Linked DNA regions of Homo sapiens: all the other regions are linked to region 5. The links are contacts of gene promoters, found by promoter capture Hi-C in blood cells and fetal thymus (Javierre and others, 2016). All regions are on one chromosome and are shown on one strand. The core of a region is centred on a gene start or on the middle of the fragment in contact, and the rest is flanking DNA. Distances in the headings are between cores, read along the strand shown.

The links. The method cuts DNA at HindIII sites, captures the fragments that hold promoters and counts their contacts. A CHiCAGO score of 5 or more calls a contact.
Region 1: a contact is called between a fragment that was not itself captured here and the fragment with the promoter of ID2 in region 5, in 2 of 17 cell types (total CD8 T cells and naive CD4 T cells). The highest score is 5.6, in total CD8 T cells.
Region 2: a contact is called between a fragment that was not itself captured here and the fragment with the promoter of ID2 in region 5, in 1 of 17 cell types (activated CD4 T cells). The highest score is 6.5, in activated CD4 T cells.
Region 3: a contact is called between a fragment that was not itself captured here and the fragment with the promoter of ID2 in region 5, in 2 of 17 cell types (naive CD4 T cells and naive CD8 T cells). The highest score is 5.9, in naive CD4 T cells.
Region 4: a fragment that was not itself captured here is called in contact with the fragment with the promoter of ID2 in region 5 in 1 of 17 cell types (naive CD8 T cells); the score reaches 5.5 in naive CD8 T cells.
Region 6: a contact is called between a fragment that was not itself captured here and the fragment with the promoter of ID2 in region 5, in 1 of 17 cell types (naive CD8 T cells). The highest score is 5.6, in naive CD8 T cells.
Region 7: a fragment that was not itself captured here is called in contact with the fragment with the promoter of ID2 in region 5 in 1 of 17 cell types (fetal thymus); the score reaches 12.5 in fetal thymus.

Annotation. Positions count from the first base shown.
Region 1 is chr2:7,494,085-7,497,571 of GRCh38, forward strand. No RefSeq gene overlaps it. Among named protein-coding and RNA genes, the nearest start is that of LINC01871, 230 kb to the right of the region's middle. The HindIII fragment of the contact is 1,092 bases long and covers 1,346-2,437 here.
Region 2 is chr2:7,666,954-7,670,459 of GRCh38, forward strand. LOC101929510 (a long non-coding RNA gene) reads left to right here. Exons shown (of 5, transcript XR_007088657.1): 3 at 608-817; 4 at 894-971. Among named protein-coding and RNA genes, the nearest start is that of LINC01871, 57 kb to the right of the region's middle. The HindIII fragment of the contact is 1,257 bases long and covers 1,052-2,308 here.
Region 3 is chr2:7,512,896-7,516,247 of GRCh38, forward strand. No RefSeq gene overlaps it. Among named protein-coding and RNA genes, the nearest start is that of LINC01871, 210 kb to the right of the region's middle. The HindIII fragment of the contact is 1,155 bases long and covers 1,456-2,610 here.
Region 4 is chr2:7,646,542-7,649,951 of GRCh38, forward strand. No RefSeq gene overlaps it. Among named protein-coding and RNA genes, the nearest start is that of LINC01871, 78 kb to the right of the region's middle. The HindIII fragment of the contact is 2,876 bases long and covers 33-2,908 here.
Region 5 is chr2:8,680,495-8,684,135 of GRCh38, forward strand. ID2 (inhibitor of DNA binding 2) reads left to right here and starts at 1,562. Exons shown (of 3, transcript NM_002166.5): 1 at 1,562-2,019; 2 at 2,349-2,412; 3 at 3,191-3,641. The coding sequence starts at 1,672. The coding sequence ends at 2,405. ID2-AS1 (ID2 antisense RNA 1) reads right to left here and starts at 1,369. Exons shown (of 4, transcript NR_110154.1): 1 at 1,333-1,369. RefSeq lists enhancers at 761-1,264, 1,752-1,801. The HindIII fragment of the contact is 3,638 bases long and covers 475-3,641 here.
Region 6 is chr2:7,473,640-7,476,994 of GRCh38, forward strand. It overlaps LOC105373407 (a long non-coding RNA gene), which reads left to right and starts at 3,109. Exons shown (of 3, transcript XR_922748.1): 1 at 3,109-3,175. The HindIII fragment of the contact is 2,402 bases long and covers 256-2,657 here.
Region 7 is chr2:7,595,319-7,599,047 of GRCh38, forward strand. No RefSeq gene overlaps it. Among named protein-coding and RNA genes, the nearest start is that of LINC01871, 130 kb to the right of the region's middle. The HindIII fragment of the contact is 1,166 bases long and covers 1,110-2,275 here.

The sequences.
Region 1 (3,487 bases), core at 642-3,141, 1.2 Mb before region 5:
GTATTAAGTGAAAAAAGCCAACCAAAATGGCTACATACTATATGATTAAGTACATACATGTGGCTTCACCATGATTCTTGGCTTTCTCACAACATAGCCAGTTTATAGAAGTTAAATTATTTACATGGTAAGTCAGGTATTCAAATATGGGTGTTTCAGTGAACAGGAGAGAAGTTGCATCACATTTTATAAACCAAACCGAGACATCATAAAAAGTCATTTCTATGATACTCTAATTACGAATTCATCTACATTTATAAGGAGGGTAAATTGACTCCATCTATTAATGAATGAAGTCAATGTCAGTCACCTTGTAGAAGAATATGGGAGAAGGAGAATGTAGTTGCAACCATCTTTGGAGAATACAATCTGTCATAAAAATTATGTGAACCTGTATATAGTTACTTTGATATCTCAAATTGAAATAAATATGAAGTTATCTTATAATCTCCAGGATGTTATACTTTATCAAATTTTGATAATTTTATAGAAACAACATGCTTAGGATGTAGCTAATTCAGCACTTTGAGGAAAATTTATAGTATTGAGTGTTCACATGAAACAGAAAAAATAGTATATTCTTAAATAATTACATATCTTCCACATTAGACATTTTTGGAAAAAAAAAAAAAAGTAATTAAGCCCAAATCAAGTAAGGAAACAAATATTATAAAGGTCAGAGCAGAAATCAATGAGACTAAAACCAGCAAAATAATAGACAAAAATCAAGGAAACAAAAAAACTACTCATTTAAAATATTCATAAAATTGTTAAACCTTTAGTTTACTGATGAAGCAAACAAAAAGAGGACATGCAATTTACCAGTGTCAGGAACGAAAGAATGAACATAACCATAGTTCCTGTGGATATTAAAGGATGATAAGATAATTTTTTTTTTTTTTTTTGAGATGGAGTCTCACTCTGTTGCTCAGGCTGGAGTGGAGTGGCAGGATCTCGGCTCACTGCAAGCTCTGTCTCCCGGATTCATGCCATTCTCCTGCCTCAGCCTCCCCAGTACCTGGGACTAAAGGCACCCGCCACCACACCCTGCTAATTTTTTGTATTTTTTTGGTAGAGATGGGGTTTCACCATGTTAACCAGGATGGTCTCGATATCCTGACCTCGTGATCTTCCCGCCTCAGCCTCCTTCCCAAAGTGCTGGGATTACAGGCGTGAGCCACCACGCCTGGCCAGGACGATGAGATAATTGTATGCAAAACTTTAAGATAAAACAGATTTAAGAGACAAATTCCTTGAAAGATACAAGCTACCAAATCTCACTCACAACGAGATAGAAAACCTAAATAATCTCATGTCTAATAAGAATTTGAAGTCACATTTTAAAAGCTTCTTACAAAGAAATCTCCAGGACTGAATGGCTTTACTGGCAAATGTTTAAGAAAGAACTAATATTAATTGTACACATACTCTTCCAATATAAATAAATAAATATATATACATGTATATGTGTGTAAGTGATATATACATATATGTATACACATTTACATGTATATACACACATGTATATATACTTGGGAGGCTGAGGTGGGCGGATCACGAGGTCAGGAGATGGAGACACGGTGAAACACTGTCTCAACTAAAAATACAAAAAATTAGCCGGGCGTGATGGTGGGTGCCTGTAGGCCCAGCTACTAGTGAGGCTGAGGCAGGAGAATGGCGTGAACCCAGGAGGCGGAGCTTGCAGTGAGTCGAGACTGCGCCACTGCACTCCAGCCTGGGCGACAGAGCAAGACTCCGTCTCAAAAAAACAAAACAAAACAACAACAACAACTATATATATATATATATATATATATATATATGAATGATATGGCTATTATTGTCTTAGTACCAAAAGCAGTAAAGATGAACTTCCTAGGATTTGCCTTTGACAAGAAGCCATCTGAATGGAATCATACAGTATACAGCCTTAAGTTTCTGCATTCTTTTGTTTAACATTTTCTTTGAGATTTCTTCATATTGTTGCATGTGTCTGTAGTTTGCTTCATTTTATTGCTAAGTTGTATTCCGTTTCATTGGTAAACCATAATTTGTTTATCCATTCACCAGATGATGGATATTTAAATTCCAGGATTGATACAAATAACCATTTAAAATATATTTATGTCCTTATTAAGATATATGACTAATGGAACAGAGATGCCGATGTACAATGCAGCCTGCCTGCAATCTGTAATCTGTATACTATATTCAAAAGAGGTAAAATTACAATAAGGACAGGGTAAGGATAAAAAAACTACCTATTAGGTACTATGCTGATTACCTGGGTAACAAAATATTCTGTACGCCAACTCCCTGCCACAGGAAATTTACCTATATAAAAAACCTGCACATGTACCCCTGAACCTAAAATAAAAGTTAAATAAAAAGATACTCTAATAGTTTATACTATGATGAACAGAAGCCAGACAAAAGAAGCTTTTGGGGGCATTCTATTTCTGCTGATTATTTTCAAGGTGATTGACATTCCCATAAGGGTATATAACAAATTGCCTTTGATGGTAAATTCTTTATATCACTGCAAAGTCATTTTCAAAGTTCAGATGTTTAAGTGCCTCATCTGCTGTCTCTCTTCCCCAAGTCACCTGCAGGTCATCAGAGAGTCTGCTGATCTGTCTCAGGGTGGGCTCCATGTTGTCTAATAACTATCCCTCTAGATCATCTCCCAGTTGAAATCCTTGAAATCTCCTTTAGTCCTTAATATAAAATTAAAGGTATCACATAACTAAGATACACGTTACCTTTCCAGATTTACTCTCTATATGTTTCGCTTTAGTGTTCTGTTTCAGACAATGATTTTGCTTATTTAAGAATATACTTTCATATTTTAAAATGTAAAACCATTGTCCATACAATTTGCCCCACCTTGGAAGTCTGGACTTCCTCTGTCCTTGTTTGTCTGAATCTAACCTGTTCTTAATCTCAACACAAACTTATATTTCTAAACAATCTGTTCCTAACCTCCACCACCTGGGGATTATTTCTATTTATTCTTTTTTTATTCTGTATAGCAACATTTACATAATATATTTAGGCCATATGATACTGCAGAAAGTAATAGATTCTTGTGGACATAGTGAAGTTTTGTTGTTTGTTGATTTGTTTCTTAATTCTTTTCTTAGTTGCGAAATTCCCTACCACATGAAGCTGTTCTGAAAGCAGAGTTGGCCTCCCTCTACAGAAAGTGAGAAGTCAAATACTCACTTTCCCAGACTCCGTTCTTGCAAGAGTGGTAGATCAGATGCAAGCACCTAGGAATTTAAATCAAGACATAGCATAGCAAAGAAGCCCGGGGAGGGGAGATTGTGTTCCTTCAGCGATGACATCAGCAGTGGCAACAGCAACATTCAGGATCAAAAAACCACAGAGGCAACAATTTTAGCAATTGCCATTATTGTCTACAGTCACAGCTCTGCCCCAGAAAGCCTCAGGTTCCCCTGCTCATGGTGACAGCTGCTCTCTTTTC
Region 2 (3,506 bases), core at 430-2,929, 1.0 Mb before region 5:
CATCTGTGATGCTTATAGATCCGCTTAAAGGGGATGGCACCTTCCTAAGAACACTCTGCCCCTTGTTTTCCTAAACTGAGGATACACGAGTTACCAAGTGAGTTGTCATGGCAACGTAGAGAGGACCATTAAACGTCGGCCATTTGGAGCCTTCTGTAGATACATCAGTTTCTGACTAACATTCTTCTCATACCTCTAAGTATCACTTAATTATTCTTGTCCTGCCATAACAGACCAATAGTCACCAAGCTGAACTGATTAGCTAATAACTGTTGGTTTTCATTAAACCCTGATTATCTCATTAGCGCATATGTAGCCAATATGAATTCCTTGATCTTTCTTGGTATTTAAATATACCAAATCGAGATAAATGAATTTCAGTAGTCATCCTCTATCCATTAAGTCGAATTATTTTACTTGTGTTGGAAACATTTTAGCAATCAAAACTGGGTATCTTTTTAGGTTTAGAGGAAAAAATTAGGGCTCAGGTTTTGAGAGTAGAGAAGAGGAAGTGAGATCTTGAGGAAGACTTTGATTGAAGGTCATTCAGATAAGCTTTTTTTCTTTTTTTTAATTTGTCATCTTCTTTGGGATGCTGTGTTTATAGGTGAGATCACGTGATGATGGAGAAGGTCACCAGAGCCAGGCACCTTGTCCACACACAGGGCTTCCTTCCTCCATGACTTAACCCAGAGATGTAGACGGCGGGGTCAACATTAAATACCACAAACAGGCAAAAGAGCTTCAGACAGAAGGATCATCTTCCTGAAGACAAAATAATCATCATCCTTTGAGGGCAAAGTGGGCAACGTTATGGGTATGTAAAATTGAGAAGCAGCTTTCATGAGTCCTGATTTATTTATTTAAAAATCTAAATTTATTTTTTTCCTTAGGTATCTTTTGTTTTGGAATGGGACTCTACACTATGGGATTTCTAGTGGAGAGGACAGTTACCAGAGTCAGCACTGGAGGTATGGGAATTTCTAAGCTAGAGAACTGCAGTAGGGAAAATTGAAAGATGCTATTTTGGGGGTCTCACTGATAGTTATGAAGCTTAAGTGTTTTTTCCTGGTGTCTTTTTAAGAAGCATATGTTAGTTGTATGCTTTATGATATAAAAAAAGATAAAGCATGTATAGGTATTTTACAGGCAGAGCAGAGATGGGGATATTCTGAATGCCCTTACCCCCCAGAAAACAAAAGTTAAGCTACATATATTTTATAAAGTAATAGGAGAGGATACATCTCTAGGAAAAGTGGGGAGATAATGCCCATAACGTAGCTAGGGCTCTACATTCCCTTGTTCAAAATCAACTATGATTGCATTTTACAATGAAGAACGCACACAGTGATTTGCAGGTAAATATTTAACAACAAGCTCGCCAAATAAAAATTGCTAGAATATATATACATGTATATAATGTCATTATAAACTTTACTCATATAAAGGATGTATATCACACAATTTACAAATAATAAAATACACAATACTCTTTATTGCAAATTTTACATAAGCAATTAATTCTTACAGAATACTTTCACTGATTTTTGCCAAGCTGCAGTATCTGTAGCCAACCTATGGTTACAATTCAGTTATGATTTGATAATTGAAACTGAATCCCTTTCTGCTCTTTCCTCATTAAATTTGTTATCATTAAGTCCAATATGTGATCTATTGTTAAACTAGTTCTCATTCTCATACAAACTATTATACATTTAGTAAATCAAAGTCTGTTTCTGGTTCATTGCTATGTATATCGGAATTTCACCCTTTGTTCAATGATGTGAGGAACTTTTTGTCTAATTGGATAATGGTATTCAAATACAGGAAGAATATTTCTTCAATATCTTTTGCTATACACAATGTAGTAGCTACATGCACAGCACACTATTAGGTTTAATCTGCATTACTGACATTTTCTGCAATACTTTCTTAAGTCTAGTCAATCAACAGAGCATTAAATCAAGTTTTGTTTTACAGTGTTTGCCAATTTCTGTTTTATAAATATTTCTACCATGCTCAATTTCAAGCTACCAACATGATGTCACTGAAGGCAAAGTTGGACAGAGAAGTTATAATAGTACACTTGATTTTTAATAATGACTGTGTTTAACAACCAAATTACAAAATTGCTGAAAATTTAACCCTAGGCTCTTGCAGGCTGGTGCAAGTCAACTCAAACACACCACCAGGGCACCCACTCTCCCCATTTCCTCCACTTATCATCTCTTTTGGAATAAAGATATCATGTGTGTATGTTTACAAGTATGTAAAAATTACATAATTTTACAAAATCTTATTTAAGTGAAGCTTAATAAAGCATTCAATAAATTGAATTGAATGGATGCACACTTAATGAAGCTAGTTGAAAAAATAAAATATAAACACATGGAAAGTTTAGTAATATTTGGAGTGAGTTTCGCTTTGTGCCAAGGGAGATTTAACAGGACAATATGGCTTCTAAGAAGGGTGAGGACTTTCTGTATAGCCTAGTAGGGGTGGGCAAGGAGGTTAGCCTGAGCCTAGAAAAGTGGTTAAGATTTGGGTAGGTGAAGAGGGAAAAAAAGAATAGTTCAGTCATTAACTCAAAGAATATGTATTGATTGATTACTAGTAACCATAAATATTAAATTTTATATCATTAACAATCTTTAAAAGGGTACAGAGTTTCTCCAAAGAATGTTTTAATCTTCTAAGCAACTGGCGGGACACAAATAAATGTCAAAAATCAGTTACTTAAGGAGTTTTAAATGTCTAAATTTTAAAAATTAACCACAGTGTCTAAAAGCAAACAAAAATTGTTTTCCTTATATACTATATCTTTAAAAATTCTGTGGAGAATAACAGCAACAGAAACTTATGAGGAAGCCAAAAATTGCTTGTCAGATTTAGGAGATATACAAAAACCAAGTGTTTTGTTTTGTTTTGCTTTGTTTTTTAATTTGGTCTTCAAAGGAGGGAGAAGAAGGACACATGTAATTAAAGGTCAAAATGATAATAACTTGGCTAGAATTCATTTTCATTTGCAGACTGGCACTTGTAGGAATTCCCTATTAGCCCAAAGACTAGCCTGAAGTTAGTTAGGCATTATTTCCCAAAGTAAGAAAAGTTAGCTTTCATTTCTAAAGCCAGGAAGAAAGAATTATAGATCTGTATAAAACAAACATGGATGTGTTTGCCATAAAATGAGAAAAGAGATCTGTAATTCTGAATAAAGAAATATCTAACCTCTAATAGGGAAAATTTAAAAAATTTACTTTTTATTGAAAAGTAAATATGGAAATAAATACGAAAAATAACCAAATTGAAAATTGTTCAATCTGGTTAGTAATGTAATTAAAGGAATAAGATGTCAATTTCTCTTAGAAGGGAAACCAAAGCCATAGAAGTTACTACATTATTGCCTCTTCTGATATGAGATAGATATACTCATATACTGCTATGAATTGCTGCTCATTTATTTTTAGAAGTCAGTTTGACATATGTAACTAGAACCACAATAGAGA
Region 3 (3,352 bases), core at 783-3,282, 1.2 Mb before region 5:
TAGTAAGATCCTAAAGTAAAGAATCCAGCCAAGCCATGCCTGGACCCCTAACCCAGAAAAACTGTGAGATCATAAATGTGTGTTGTGGAAAGCTGCTAAGTTTGTAGTAATTTGCTCCATAGCAATAGAAAACTATTACAGAAGGATAAGCTACAGCAAAATCAAGGAACATATTTCTCAACAGCTCTTTGGAGGGAAGGAAAAAAGAAGCAAAATATTTGCTAAAATCAGACTCACTCTGGTTTTTTGGAAAGTGACTGCCTTATCCATTGCTGCTGTGTGCATGTCCAGGAAGCAGCACAGTCATACAGAGGAGGACTTCGAGGTCCCAATCACACTGCTGTGTGGCCCCCATTAACACCACTTCCTAATAAATTATGCCAAGTGCTTATGATACCACAGGCACTTTAAACATAAGAATACATTAATTTATAGTAAAATACAAGTTGTTGTTGAAAAAGAAATGACTAGATTTGTTCATTATTGGTTATAACTGAGTATATAGGAAATATCAGTCCATGAATTAATTTTACACAATCTTTAAATTAGTCATAGTGAGTTTGGCTCAAGAGTAGTATTTTGTGATGGAGACACTTCGTTAAAAAATAGGAAAGAGGGAGGGTGTTCTCTGAGGACCCTTGGCGAGTTGAATTTTGTGACTAAAATATATAATGTTCTAACTGTGGCAGATGCAGCTCTGAAGTAATGAAATAGATAAACACTGGGAGAGGGACAAGGGAAGAAAAGATCTACTAGGCTGACCACAACTAGGGCTACTAGCCAGCTGGTAGGGTGCTACAATTGTTTCCTTTGCTGCCATAACATATTATTACGAACTTAGTTTTTTTAAAACATGTATTTCTTATTTCATGGTTTTGTAGGTTGAAATCTGGATCATCTCATTACTGTGCTTCTGGTTTCACTAGGCTGGAATCAAGGTGTCCATCGGCTAAGCTCTAATCAACAGTTCTAGCAAGAATCTGCTCCCAATGCCATTCACGTTGCTGGCAGAATCCACTTTATTTTGGTTTCACTAGTGAGGTTCTCATTTGCTGCCTGACAGCTGGCTTTAAGCTCCAGAGACCTCTCTCTGGTTTTTGTGTGTGAGCATCTATACCTCAGAGCCAGCAATGGTGCACTGAAACGTTCTCACTCATGGAATCACTCTGACTTCCCTTTTTGCTGCATCTTTCTGACTCCATCCAGAGAAAGTGCTCCAGTTTTGAGGGTTTCTGTGATTATATTAGACCCACTCAGATAGTCTAGGATAATCTTCCAATTCTGAAAACTGTAACCTTAATTACATCTGCATTGTCTTTTTTTTTTTTTTTTTTTACCATGTAATGTAACATATTTTTAGATTCCAGGGACTGTCCATATTTATCTTTGGGGGCCTTTATTCTGGCCACCACAGATGCACTCACTCTTTGGATGCTAGTGGTCAAGTCTGGTACAAGCTTTTTAATGTGTTCAGCATGATTTAGCCACTTTCTATATCCGTGCAGAGACATGGGTGATGGCATTAAATCCTTAACGGCATAAATAAAGGGATAGTACAAACAGTGTCATTTATCTTGTGGTTAAAAGTCAGAATAAGGTTCAACTTCTGGTATGGCTATATACTGGGATGGACATGGCGCCCATCTTGAATATGTGGATCTTGGGAAAATGACTCTCATATTTTCTTTGATAAAATGGGACTAATAAAACTCAATGGGAGATAATCAAAAGGATAATGATGTACTCATTTACTAACATCTTATGGAGATGAAATATGATAATCCCTGTAAAGACATTTGCTCATGGTTGTTGCTAAACAAATGTTAGTTCCCTTCTAACCTTCTCCTACTCTATTTTTCCAGTATTGTTACAAGAATCCAGAGATTATTTATTTTCATTAAACAAAATTTTAAGAAACAGAAAAAATAATATAGATATCTATATTGCCTACTACTCAATCTCCACCTAGTAATTCCCAAAGCGTTTGAATCCACTTGCGGGCACCAATAAAGATACACAATGGAAATATCTAATTGTTAAGCATCTGGACAACTAAAGTGTTGCAATTTGTACATTTGAAATGTTATGTTGAAGTAAATCAATGAATTGTAAGTAAGTCATGTGAAAAGATGTCTGATAATGTTTTTCTGGCTATGTATGGAATGGTTAAAATGGTTTATTCTAAGAGTTTACAGATGTGTAAAAGTTCATAAATAATTCACACAATAGGACAATTGAGAATAATTTGGAGTCTGTTACATCAAGCACCATTGTTTGTTACAAATATCTACATGACATTGAAACTCCAATTTCTTCTACAACCAAACATTAGAATTATTACTTGGCAGTGAAGTCCGTGCCTCAATGATATTTATTCAGGCAATACATTCAAGAAAGGATTTCATGAAAGCCAATATTCTCAATGGCAGCTGGAGATCTCCTGGTTCATAAAATATTGTACTTTAGAGTAGACCATGGAAAGTTAAACTTTCAATCCCTCTCTGATACCTGCTGTCCCCTGTAAAGCTGTTTTTTAATCTCCTCTTTCCAAAGGCTGGGATCATTCCCCTTTCATCAGTGTTCTTATTACTCATTTAATACCTCTGTTGAAGCTTCCTCCACTGTAGTTTGGGGGTTTTTGTTCACTTTTTCTGTTTCCTTCATTGGGCTGTGAACTCTTCAAATGTAAAAACCACATATTGTTGACTTCTATTTCTAGATCTAGTTTGGTTTTCTGGGTTAGAACTGGCTCCCAGTAGAGCACTTCATTAAAAGCACTGAAGAACTTCAGTTATAAGCATATAATAGGAAAAATATTTAACACAATGTGGGTAAATGTGAGCTGATTTTAGGACAGAGAACAAACTAACATATAGGGAATGATGAAAAAGAAACTTTGGAGAAAGAATAGAAGAAAAGTATTTTTAATATCAAATATTATGCCTTGATCTCTGGGATATTTTTCTTTCTCAAATATAATCGGACTATTGAGTCTAGAATATATTTTACCATTATAGTTATAGAAATACTTTCCAGTTGTTTAACAATTCAAATCAGCAATGGTCATATGAATTTGAAAAATAAGAAAAAAAGATTAAATATGAAAAATAAAAAGGAAAGGCATTTGTGCTAGGGATCCACCAATTTGATGCTTTGAGATTACAATCAGGGTACTGAAGTTGAGTGCTGGGCAGCCAGCGAGGCAGTTTCTTGCCTTGTGCATCATCTTATAACATGGCATTTTCCCAGAGTAATTATTCAATCAGCCTAAGTACACACATTAGGTGTTGGTCTTTGGCTCTGAAAATGTGAAAACCTAATGCTTAGAATTGAAAGGCACCAGAGTTTTCCA
Region 4 (3,410 bases), core at 221-2,720, 1.0 Mb before region 5:
GGAAAATTAGGGAGTGAGCCTCACAGACATTAAGCTTTTGCTCATATCTGTATTTTTTGTTTTGTTTTGATTTTAGGGACACCTTTTTTGAAAGGGCAAAGGCTTAAAAGGAAAAAAAATAAGAAAGAGAGAAATGTTTCCAGTAGTGCACATATCCAGAGATACATTGGCAAGAAACAATACTCTGAATAAGGTCTGGGGAGAGCTAGCGAAAGTGGCTCCATTTATGAACTGCGTAGAAGCTGAAACTGCATATTTTCAAACAGATTGTCTCCACAAACCAAGATAACAGCTTGAATCAGGAGAGGGCTGCACTGACTCAGGGTTAGAGGTGTGAAGTGCAGGGGGGAGCACTGGAAGGCGGCCACAGCACATGGACCATGGGATGGATGGATGCCTTTTCCAGATCTACACGGGAGAGGGTGACATGTGACATTCACCACGGCGACTTTTTGGAAGCAGCTCATTTCATGGATTCTTAGCATTAAAAAAAAAGTCAGAATTATGTTTACTTTAAATAGGGCATGTGCTGATTTCTCTCTCATTCCACAAGGCATTGTGTTCTCTTGATGCAGCAGGAAAGATACCCTGAAGGTTAGTGGTAAGAGACCCACATCGCCATGGTTACCTCCAAGATTCCTTTCTTCTCTGCAAAAGCACAAGTCATCAAAAACTTAAAAACCCCATACTGAGTCTAACTAAGGAGGAGAAATAAAATACTGTCAATATTTTTGACAACACATTCTCCATCTCCAGCTGCAAATTGCTTTCAAATACACTTTGGAAATGGTGTTACAGTGCCCTGTGACTGACTTGGCATGGAGTTGAGCTCTTAACATTTGGGAGGGGAAATAATATTAAATCGATGAATGGATGCTTTGAATTGTCTGCACTTCCTTATTTACATCTTTTCATTAATATTAAGGTGTGATGATATGTTTTATTCAAAGTGAGATCTAAGCGCTCTTCAAAGACTTGTAGGGATTAAGAGCTCTTCTGATTATTGGCTCAGCAGAGGTCCAGTCCTTGGTAATACTTTTTTTTTTTTTTTTTTTTGAGACAGGTCTTACTTTGTCACTCAGACTAGAATGCAGTGGCACAAATACAGCTCACTGCAGGCTCAACCTCCCAAGCTCAACCTATCTTCCCACCCCAGCCTCTTGAGTAGCTTGGACTACTGGCATGTGCCACCATGTCCACCTAATTTTTTTATTTTTTGTAGAGTCAGGGGTCTCCCCATGTTTCCCAGGCTAGTCTTGAACTCCTAAGCTCAAGTGATTCTCCCGCCTCAGCTTTCCAAAGTGCTGGGAGCACAGGTGTGAGATGCTGTTCCTGGATGGTAATGATTGTATTACTTTCTCTCCATACCGCAACACCCGCTTCTTCATACCTCTCTTGATGGTCTTTATACACTTTATGTTTTGTATCTTAGCCATGCACAAATATGGCTTCTCTCTCCAACTCTCTTTAGTAATCTTTGATGAAAGAACAGTGGTGTGAATTGCATTTGTATCCTTTTTAGTGTGTCTAACACAGTGTTCATATAATGAACTCTGAATAATTATTTATAGATTGAATGAATAAATGAACAATATAAATGATGTCACCAGTGCTAGAAAGGTATAATCTGTTAACTTAGACATATCTCAACAAGTTATTAATTTTTATATTCACTGAGACAAATTAAGAAAAAGTAGTCGATATTTGCATGCTTGGAAGAATTTAATTCTGGTGACTTTTTGAAACGGAAATTTTGTAAGTGCCAATAAATAGCATTTACATTATTTGTTGTGCTCTACAATTTCGTCATGATAATAAAATATTGTTTGGATATAAAAAAGATCTGACTAAACTAGCCTGGGTGGTGTCCAAACCATCTGTTTAGGTCCAAAAAACACTTGTAGGGAATAAATATGTCTATAATGAGCTTGTGACTTTTAGATTTGAAACCTTAAGTGCAGAATTCAATAACAGTCCTCAGATGGCAGCTCTCAGAGATATCTACCAAGGAAGAAAACAGACAAGTTACCATTGCTAGTCAGATGCCTTTGCCAAGAAAGCGGAAGCATGGAAATGTAGGTCACAGATGGAATTCCATTATTTCATGGCTATGGTGTCCTAAGCAGAAATCTGAAAACCACACCTGGCTGAGTTCCGATCAGAAGGAGCACCCATGTCCCCCTCTGTGGGGCTTGGCCTACTCTCAAGCATGGCCCTCTTCCCTCTCACGGATAGGCAGGAACGATTTTCTTAATCTTTACTTCGTCTAACATTATTTATATCTTCCACTGCAAGCCAGGCACTGTGCACATTGTTGGTGGTTCAGCAGCAATCCAGATAAACTTGATTCTTCCCTCCACGGAGATTTTTGCAGAATGAACACAGTCTTTGGAATCAAATGCAGATCTGAATACAACGCTTTCTACCCAAGAGCAAAGCAGATACATAGGATCTCTGACACCTCAATAAAATGCTTATATCCAAAAAGGATCATGCAATGAGAATAGCAGAATTTACAAAATCTCTGCTAAAAGGATACTGCTAGAATGTAGGCAAGATAAGGAATATGCATGGTCAACAAGGAGAGAAAAATGTGACAGAGATCAGAGTCACATGGATGAAAAGACACGATTACTTAATGAAACCAAATTTGCTTAGACCCCCTCAAAAATGAAGAAGGCCCTTCACCTACTCAAAGATGAGGAGAAATATGTTCTCGGCTGTGTTAAAATAAACGCAAGAAAAACTTTATCCATTTCCAAATGCTTGTGTGTGTGTATTTCTGTGTGTGTGTGTGTATCTGTGTCTGTGTGTAAGATAAAAGTTAACCCCATTTCAAAACCTGCTAGCTACATACAGATGAACTGTATTCTAAATACTGTTGTAAAAAATTCAGTGTTTAAATAAAAGCTTTTAAAAAAGAAAAATAAATAATGCTATGGGACTAGATTGAAAAACATGAGTTTTCTTATGGATTTCAAGTTCATTGCTCCCATCAAAATCCATGCAAGCAAAGGCACGAGAGCCAACCACAGTGACCCAGAGTCATTCTTCTCATTAACAAGAATCAGGGGAGTTGTTCTATTCAGGCTACAGATGACCACAGTTATCAAACTAATGCCAGACAATTTCCAAGCCAGCTGGCATGCTCTTTGTCCACAGTAATTCAACTATTGACTGACAGCCTACAATGGGCATGTGAAGTGGCCCCTGCAAGCCTGAGAAGGCTGGAGAGAACAGGATACCTGTGGCTTCTGCCTTCATGGAGCTTCAAGTCAAGAGGGACAAAAAAGCTAAACAAACAATTCAGAGGCTTGTATGTTAGAAATATTTCACGAGGATAGAACAGGTCATGTGGGAGCCAGAAAGGAGGGTGGAACAAATTGAGAGAGGGTGGTCAGGGTCAGACT
Region 5 (3,641 bases), core at 312-2,811:
CAGCTGAGAAATTAATCATTAATTGAAGGAAAAAACACTGTTTCCCCATTATCGAGCTTTTCTTTCAGCTTCTAGGCCTGCCCCTTCCGCTTTCTGAAATGCAAAGGAGGTAGAGATTGAGGCAGAAAGTAAATAAGATTTGAATATTGCCTTTCCTGGAGTTTTCTAGTTCATTGTTTTCTGGAGCAAATATTTTCAAAAACAAGAAACTGACACACTGTGGTCAAAACAGAATTCTAGATAAGCTACAATTATGTGAAAATTAAGGTATTTAAGTAAATAGCTGCAAACTTTTTAAAACTTAGACTGAAAGAACGAGTTCTTAAAAGATTTTCAGCCAAAAAAAAAAAAAAAAACCTTGAACCCGTATTCAGTACTAGTGCTGAAAAGATTCCAAACCTCATATGACAGAATATTTTTTTTTCCTTAGTGTGAAGATGTCTATCAATGGCTAGGGCCACCTATCTGTCACAAAGCTTTGGAACTCCTCTAGGTGTTGGAATGTGACACCAGAAATCACAATTAGTGCATAATTAATCACATTACTTTGCCACCTACACGGAAGGGCACAGACCGGCAGCCTTTCAAGGGCAGTGTATGTAAATGTAGTTTCAATATGCAAATTCTCCTAATTATTTCCGATTAATACGATCATTATAATAGCCCTGCCTCCTTCTTGAAAAGGAACCCTGAAAGCGCCCTGCCTGTGAGAGCTCCTTAGCGACCGGTGAGGTTGGGCATGGTTTGCAATAAGTACTCATTTTCTTGAGTTTACAGTAATGCCTCCCGCGCTGCTCCGGGTTGCAAAAGCCCACACTAAGCCTGTCGTCGAATGCGTGCGTGGGTGGTTTGTTTGTGTTAACATAACTTTTCCTTATCTGAAGAGACGAACTCACTCTACAAACGTGACTCTTCAGTGACAACCTAATTTGCGTTTTCACTTTCTTCTGAAATGCTTTCTATCTTTCCTCACGCTCTCCCTCCGATGGGTTGCAGTGAACTGTGGCTTCCCCCCTGCGGTGCTGAACTCGCCCGTGTAGCTGTGATTTTAGAGCTGCCGACAGCTCTAAGGTGTGTAGGGCTTGGTCTGGGAACACCCCCAGGGCAAGGGTCCCGCCGCGCGCTTGGAATTAGAATTAAGAATGCATATTTAGGCGCCCAGGGTCTGCCCCCTTCTCCCTCCTCCTTCCCCTCCCCCTTCCCCTCCCCCTTCCCCTCCCCCATCTTCCCTTCTCTTCCTCCTCCCTCCTCCTCTCCCTCCTCCCGCCTCCCTCCTCCCCGCCCCCCGCCCGCCGCTCCCCGCCCCCCGCCCCCCGCCAGCCCCGCACTTACTGTACTGTACTCTATTTACCACCCCAGCTGGGCTCGCGCCCCGCCCACCCCGCGGGGATTGGCTGCGAACGCGGAAGAACCAAGCCCACGCCCCGCGCCCGCGCCCACCAATGGAAGCGCCCGCTCGTCTTGATAGACGTGCCACCTTCCGCCAATGGGGACGAAGGGAAGCTCCAGCGTGTGGCCCCGGCGAGTGCGGATAAAAGCCGCCCCGCCGGGCTCGGGCTTCATTCTGAGCCGAGCCCGGTGCCAAGCGCAGCTAGCTCAGCAGGCGGCAGCGGCGGCCTGAGCTTCAGGGCAGCCAGCTCCCTCCCGGTCTCGCCTTCCCTCGCGGTCAGCATGAAAGCCTTCAGTCCCGTGAGGTCCGTTAGGAAAAACAGCCTGTCGGACCACAGCCTGGGCATCTCCCGGAGCAAAACCCCTGTGGACGACCCGATGAGCCTGCTATACAACATGAACGACTGCTACTCCAAGCTCAAGGAGCTGGTGCCCAGCATCCCCCAGAACAAGAAGGTGAGCAAGATGGAAATCCTGCAGCACGTCATCGACTACATCTTGGACCTGCAGATCGCCCTGGACTCGCATCCCACTATTGTCAGCCTGCATCACCAGAGACCCGGGCAGAACCAGGCGTCCAGGACGCCGCTGACCACCCTCAACACGGATATCAGCATCCTGTCCTTGCAGGTAAGACCTGCTCCGGGGTCCCCGCCCCGCCGCCGCACACTCCCGCGGTCGTCTGGGCTGTCACTAGGAGATCCGTAGCCCAGACGGTGACTTTCGTATGAGCTATTTAACTTTATTTTCTTCAGAATCTGCTGTAGATTGAGCTGTGCGTGAAATTGCTAGTAAGTTCTGACATGTTAATGCGTCTGTCTTTAAATCTGAATTGTTACCATAAACGTGTTTAATGGAACTTGCTGGTCTGTGGACTACAAAAAAAAAAAAAAAAAAAAAAAAACCCTTTCTACTTAACATTGTCTTAACCTCGTACTCTTTATCCTCTTTCTTTCCAGGCTTCTGAATTCCCTTCTGAGTTAATGTCAAATGACAGCAAAGCACTGTGTGGCTGAATAAGCGGTGAGTGTTTGCTTGTGCCACCCGTGGGTAAACTGCCCCTCGGTGTGTGTGCGCGCGCGCGCATGTGTTTTTGCTTGTGTATCTATAAAATGTCTGATTTGGTAAATGCATGCTTACTTCGCGGTGTTACCCGTACTACATTGTCTCACTAGACATGAAGGAGCTTGTAGCTTTGGGTGCTCGAGATCACAGAACATTTTCCTTTAAAAGGAAATGATGCCAATAACTTACTACGAAGGCGGCCGAGGAACGTGTGTATTGGCTTTGTAGCAAATGTAATGCCCTGGATCTTCCTACGAGTCCTCTGGTACTATGAGGTACTAACCTCCACTGTAATTAATCTTACCGCCACAAATTCCATAGTGATCCTCCTTCCCTAAAACTATAGTCCTCTGGGATTCTCTGGGCTAGTTGAGGATTGCTACCCTGTGCCTTCAACCCTGTGATGTGGGATCCCAGACTTCCCTATCTGTTAACTAAAGGGCTGTTTTCAATCAAATAATTGTTACGAGAAGCAGACTGGCGCCTGTAGCACTGCTGTTGGAGATCCAAATAGGAGATTGGGTTGGGAAGTTTTTCCCTTGAGTCTCTGCTATTTTAATGTTTAATTTGCGCTGTCGAGGCGAGTGTGTGTGTTGCATCTGGACGCCAGGGTTTGCCCAATCTTTGAGTGTTTGGTTAAATGTTCAAACTGTGGCTTCCTCCCGGCGCCAGTCGCCCGCCTCTGCCCTTAGGTTACATTCTCTTAAACATGCCTTTCTCCCCCACTCTTTCGCAGGTGTTCATGATTTCTTTTATTCTTTGCACAACAACAACAACAACAAATTCACGGAATCTTTTAAGTGCTGAACTTATTTTTCAACCATTTCACAAGGAGGACAAGTTGAATGGACCTTTTTAAAAAGAAAAAAAAAATGGAAGGAAAACTAAGAATGATCATCTTCCCAGGGTGTTCTCTTACTTGGACTGTGATATTCGTTATTTATGAAAAAGACTTTTAAATGCCCTTTCTGCAGTTGGAAGGTTTTCTTTATATACTATTCCCACCATGGGGAGCGAAAACGTTAAAATCACAAGGAATTGCCCAATCTAAGCAGACTTTGCCTTTTTTCAAAGGTGGAGCGTGAATACCAGAAGGATCCAGTATTCAGTCACTTAAATGAAGTCTTTTGGTCAGAAATTACCTTTTTGACACAAGCCTACTGAATGCTGTGTATATATTTATATAT
Region 6 (3,355 bases), core at 207-2,706, 1.2 Mb before region 5:
GAATCACAACACCCCTTGGACCCATTACTTTTGACTGGTGATGAGATTTTCTTTTTGAGAGGTTTACAGCAAGGGGCATCTTAAGGGATTTTGCCCCTAGACAAATCCGACTGGGCATGGCATTCATTAGAAATCTAAAACTGCTATTCACATATTTAGGAGCCAGATAAAGCTAAAAATTCATTTTGTAAATGTATTTCCTCTTAAGCTCTAGTGTCTTACGTATAAGAAATATCCTTAAAAGTGAATCAGCAAAGCTTCAAGAAAACCACTGAATCTAATTCTTAGCAAAATTTTGGTTCTATGTAGAAAAAGTATTTTTTAAATGGTGTGTTATTTAATTTAAAAGATACAAATAAGTTAAAAACTAGAGCCAGCCTCACCATACAACTAGCTGTAAACTTAGGATGACCTGAAATATGGTCAGCTCTCTATTGTTTTCATTTTGAAGAGGCTCAGAAAAGAAAAGTGCTAGGACCACTGGAAGCCACGAAAGTAGAATCATACATCGTATCTCCTGGTCTCCCAATTCCTTCCCTCCACTGTGTTCAGACTTCATTATTGCTTGAGTTTTGTTTTTGTTTTTAACACCATCCAGGTATTCCTTGAAGTTTACTTGGGTCACAATAAGAGTGGTTGTTTGCTCCTTTTGAGCACATTTGGATCTCACATCCTTGATTTGGAGGTTATCTATACAAGTTTTAACACACATAAAATTTACACTTCGTAAAGCAGAAAATATTTATTTATTTTGTATAGATTTTGCCATCTGCAGGGGAGCATGTAATAAATATTTGATGTTCCTCAAATGGGCACACAAGAAATGCTTTGAAGATAAATTGGACTTGCCTTCTGAGATTTATTTAAAAATATATATCTGAGAATAAAACTACTACGGAAGTGAGCAGACTTTTAATATTTCTTCTGGAAGCCTTAATTTGGAGACCACAACTTTTCATAAGGTTCTTGAATTTTCAGTGCTCAATGCTTCTACTCCGACTTTTGTGACATGTTAAGTCAGGCAATAAAGCAATCTGTGTTTCAGATAAAGTTTCTTATTAATTTTTATGTAAATTAGGGGCCCACTACTTTGTTTATTGGCTCCTACTGCAAAAAAGAGGGTATATGTCTTTTTAAAAATGATAAATTTCAATAGATCCGTCTGTCAAAGATGCAAAATAAATCTTCGTTTTCAAACTTCTGCTGCTGAGAGGGAGAGAATACCTCTTTTTTTAAAATGTGTTTTCATATTTGCATGGGAAAAACGAAACTTCAAGAATTAATGCAAGAGAAACAAGTATATAAAATGTGAAAAACAGAGACCTTTCGGTGGAACACGTTTGGGGTAGCGTTATGCACAGGACGGAGCAGGGGTCTGCTTGTAGAAGCCCTAAGCAAGCCTGACATTAATGAGCCACAGGATGTCAGAAGAAGAGGAGAAGGGTGAATTCATTCTTACAGATAGGCTAGAAGCCAAAAAAAAAATTTGTAAGTTGTGGAGACTTTCCAATGTTTCTGTAAAATCAGGACCCGCAAAATTTCTTTTACTTCTATTTTCTTTTACTCTTCTACATTAAAGTTGAAAATAGATGAAACAACTGTTATGGGTTGAATTGCATCCCCTCCAAATGCATAAGCTGAAGTCCTAAGCCTCATAGCCTCTGATTGCGACCAGAACAGGATCATTGCAGATGTAATTAGTTAAGATGAGGTCATACTGGAGTAGGGTGGGCCCCTAGTCCAATATAATCGGTGTCCTTAGGAAAAAAGAAAAGAAAAACTCTGCACAAGACACGCACACGTGCACGCACGCACGCACACACACACAGAGGGAGGATGGCATGTGAAAACGAAGGCTGAGATCAGGTTGAGGCTTCTACAAGCCAAGGAACACTAAGGATTGCCAGGAAACCACCAGGAGCTCGGAAGAGGCTTGGGACAGATTCTTCCTCACTGCCTTCAGAGGGAACCAACCCTGCCAACACCTTGATTTCAGACTTCCGGTCTGCAGAACTGTGAGGCAATAAATATGTGTTGTTTTTAAGCCAGCTGTTGGAGGTACTTTTTTACAGCAGCCTTGAAAACTAATATTACTCCTAAGAATTTTCATCATTTTGAATTTTTACTCTATGGCATAATTTTTTTAAAAAACTAACAAAAACAGGTCTGGAAGAAGTCATGGGAAGGTTGAGGTATCCTGCTTAGCTGCATCTCACAGGGCAAGGGAAAACAGAATAACAGAGGCTGGATGGTGTGTAGGGCGTTTCAGCATTTCAGAGCATTGCACAAATGATAACTACTACACAGCTTCAATAGGGCTCCCTTTCTCCAGCTTTGGGGCAAGACAGATGAACGGGAAGCAAAATGGCTCCAAACCACAGAAAGAGACGTATGGATTAAAGTAGGCTATAGTTTCTTTATAGTGTTTCTACTTTTACTTCTTCCATTTGTGCCTGGAGGATGCAGGCCTCCTTCACCCAGCAGGTGAGGTTGCTTCTAGTGTTCTATGTGTTTCATCTGCACAGCAAACATAATGTTGAATCACAACCCTTCTTGCTTCAGTTGGGGAATCTTCTCCATTCTTATGGAGTCCTGCCTATTCTACATCTAAGAATTCTCACCTATTGCACACACTTTTCTTTCTCTTTTTATGGGAAAGCTTTTCTTAACTTGCATTTCATAGCACTGTCCTTGACATGTGAAGAAAAATTTTTGGAGTTTAGAAACACTCTTTTACCCCATTTTTTGGAACAAAGCCTACCTTTCAATGAATCTTTTGTATTAGGTTATCTCTGCTCCTCTCCTAAATTAGTGAATGCCATTTATTCCATGAGTGGTGAAACTCAGGGCTAGAAATATCTATAAGAATTAAAAAAATGCACCAGAAGAGAGTTAAACAACATTATCCCCTTACATCATGTTTTCTTTTGCAGAGGAAAGTGAAAGGAGTGGATACAGTATTGCCCTGGGAACCCTGCAAAGCTCAGGACAATTATAAACATGTGTGATCATTCTTGGGGGTTATTTGTTTGAATTAGGTATTCCCTTATCAAACTGATGAGCCTAATGTGTGTGTAATCTCCCCACAGAGCCTGGGTCTCCCTGGAGGAAGGCACAGAGTTGCACAACCCACGAAGGGACCCTTAAAGCAATCGGGAGCTCCACCTGAGCCCAGGTATGGCAGGCTGACCTGTGACCTACCTCAGAGCCCAGAATGAAGGAGCCAAAAGCTAGCCAGCATTGAAACAGACACTGTGCCCTGCCTCTGGAGTCATGCAGGCCTACTTCCCTCATCCCCCCTTCCTGAGGGAGCCATGATAGAAGAAAGCCCAGATGAGGAAACTCTCAGGACTGA
Region 7 (3,729 bases), core at 443-2,942, 1.1 Mb before region 5:
TGTAACCATTTTAATGACCCTAAAATAAAGTGCTTAGAGCAACATCTGTCCCAGCAGCTGGGTTCTCTGCATGAGTGGGCAGAGCGACACATTGGGACAAATTCTGTTCTCCCTTTTGACAGAAACAATTGCAGCAGATCATTTTTATCGTAATCAATTTAGGTACAGTTTCTTGGAAACCATCTGTGTAGTGTTCATAGATTGTGCTTAAGAATTTAAATGTGTATATTTTTGGTCGCTTGATGTAGCATCTGCTAATGGCCACATAAGTTCCACTTTTTATGCAGAAAGCTGTTTCCTTGTAAAGGGATTAGTAGAATGACTACTTGATTTTATCCTTTTAACTACCCAATAAGCTTCTGCAGTTTGAATGACATCCGCCACAGAGTGTTAGTTGTGGAATTAATTGCTTAAAAAAAAAATAGAAAGTGGAATTGGAATTATAAGACCAACAAAGGCTCAGTGAAACATTTTCATGTATTTCTATCTCTAGCTCATAATTTTAAATTAATATGGTTGTATGCGGGCAATTGAAACTAAAGAAAAGCATAGCTTTTGATAACAACTCTTTTTCTTCCATTTTTTTCCAGTATTCATTTGTGGCTTTACAGCTATTAGTTAAATAACTATGAAGAAATCAAATGGCGAAATCAGCCAACATTGACTTTAGCTTTGAGAATAATTTTAGAATCATATTAAAAGATAATTGATCTTAAAATACAAGATAATGAAAACTGAGTGGCTTTGGCGCAGATGTAAAGGATTTACCTAAAAAATGCTGTCAGCTATATTTTGGGGATGAAATGGATTCCATAATGTACCTGAGTCTTGACAACACATTTCGAACAGAGAGATTTCTAGTCTTGCTTGAGAATTACTTGTGAATTTAGAAAATATGTCACTATCCAGATAATCTAGAATAACGTAGGATTTCCATGGTTTGGAAAAAAAATGTTTTTTTCTCTGATAACAAGCATGCTTGGCTTCTTCTCTACTCAAAGTATTTGAAAACACTAAACCACAAAACTAACTAGATCACCAACTGGCTAAATAATTAAATAAACAAAATAATGCCAGAATTCAAATTATATGAGAGTATACAAGCCTTAAGCTTGCACACTTTTTATTTGGATAGAATACGAAGCAGAAATTTAGAAGGAGTATATGTAGGTTTTATATTCAACTCTACAAACACATATTAAGTGCCTATTACATATGTGTGAAGTGCTGGAGTTACAAGATGAGTGAGAAGCAGTTCCACCGGTGAGGTGTTTCCCAGCGAGTGTAGAGGAAAAAGCAATCTGGAACCGGAGTGGTTTCCTCTGTGTTCTCAAGGTTCTATTACGGATGTACCTCAATTTGGCACAAACTCTGAGTAGTTAGTGCAGCAATCAACCTGATCGTATTCATCTATTTTCCATTTACTCCCCTGTGGTGAAAGGTCTTGGTTTTCAAAAGAGTAAATAGTGAATTGATTGTGATTGTATGCAGGTGATCCTAATAATAATTATTATTTATTAAGTTGGTTGTATGTCTTTGCATTAGGTAATTGATCCACTAATAGAATGTGAAATTAGGACTGCTAATAAAAATGTTTCTTTGTTAATTTCCGTCCCTGAAGTTTGCAAATTGTGTACTCACCAAAGCGTGAAGAAAGAAAGAGAAAGATGTTGGTTACACAGGGTTGAGTTCACAACAAGCACAATAGAGGGGACGGATCGAATTTTCCAAGGAGGTTTTTGCTATAGATAATTTGAGTGTATTTCAGGAAACATATTAGCAGAAGTAATTTATGGTAAGTTCTGAATATGGCAGGAGGTGAGATTACTTCAAGCATGTGCCATTTTTGGCTCCCTGGTCTAGAGAAGTTCTTTCTACCCAAACTATCAATCAGCTAAATTATTTTCAAACTTAATTAGATGAAAGAATTTGGTCCTATGATTTGAATGTGCTGGAAGGTGTCCAGGCTACTAGAAACGTCATTTCAATAATACTCTTCTATGCCATCTGTAAGAATCACACCAAACAGACTTAATGCAGATGAACATAATACAAAACAGAACCTACAGCCGAAGAGGGAAACAGAGTTCATGAAGACATACACAAGCACACACGGGCACACACGAACACACACACACCTCGGATCCTGTGGAAACACAAAACTATATGTAGGGGCCACATACAAAGTGAGCAGTGGCAGGCAGGAAAGAAACTTAAAGAAGAGGCTTCCTCCATTTTGAGATCAACATTCCTCCAAAAATAATTTTGTATTTAAAGCTTCCAATTATTCTTTTGTCAGATTGACTTTTGGGATGTGGTCCTTCAGAGAAGTATATTTTTTTCATTTAGATGGATGTGTGTGTGTGTTTGTGTTTCTAAGTGTGTGATGTCAATATTCAGTCATAGTTTAAAACAGTGTTTCTTTTTTCAGGAATAGAAATCAAAGGTTGTCTGGTGCTTTTGTAGAGAGACTTATGCCTAGTTACCAGCTTAGACTTGATTACCCAGCATCTTCTGGGGCATGGAAGGTGGGAGATTTGATACATATAATATGTCTACACAGACACAAATACTCCCAGATAGACAGAGATGGGCATTGTGAGAATGCCTGCTGTGGCTGTTTATGGAGGGAAAGACTCCTCTCAATTGGAAGATTTAGGAAGTCTTTGCACGAGACAGATAACATTTTGGGAAATTTTTCCTTGAAGGAGGGGTATTCTACTTGAGATGTACAAGACAGGTAGATTTGGATTTTCAGGTGATGAGAACAAAAGAAGCAAAAGTTAATAATTGCTGTATTGCTGTATCTTCTTGCTTTAGTAAATTTTTTTTTTTTTGAGACAGAGTCTCACTCTGTCGCCCAGGCTGGAGTGCAGTGGTGTGATCTTCGCTCACTGCAGCCTCCACCTCCCGGGTTCAAGCGATTTCCGGGCTCAGCCTCCCAAGTCGCTGGTACTACAGGCATGCACCACCATACCCAGTTAATTTTCATACTTTTAGTAGAGACCGGTTTCACCATGTTGGTCAGGCTGGTCTCAAACTCCTGACCTCAAGTGATCTACCTACCTCGACATCCCAAAGTGTTGAGATTACAGGTATGAGCCACTGTGAGTGGCCCGTATTAGTAATTTTTAATAGCTGAGGGCTGAAAACACCAAAGATCCTGGGAAGACTTAGCTCAATTCGAGGTTCACCATTGTGTAAAGCATTGGTTCTCACACAGCACAGTTTCTCAGACAAGCAACATCAGAATCACCTGGACATTTCTTAGAAATGTAAATTCTAGGTCCCTACTCAAAACAAAACAGAAACTCAAGGGATAGGGGCCAGCAACCTAGGTTTTAACAAGCCCCACAGATGTGTCTAAATGCTCTCTAAACTTTGAGAAATGTAGCATGAAACACTGCTAATAAACTGTCCCTTCTGTTGGCAGAACTTATTGATCCTTACCTTTCTTCCTTATAAAGTCAGGGCCGAGTTATCCGGCTTTTCATGTGCCTTCACAGAGAACACTGATAGGTGCTCATCACTGACTATATTTTTAGGGGACTTTTGGTAGTTAATCTTACTGATTATGTTTGCTGCTTTGATTTACAAAATAAAATATGGCAATTCAATGAGCTGGTACCATAAGGTCAAAAATCACAACATCACCCTGCTAAGCTCATGACATCCCGTAACTCCAAGTGCCTTGGTGGGAAGGGGGAATCCAGTATGTGCTCAGGTGGA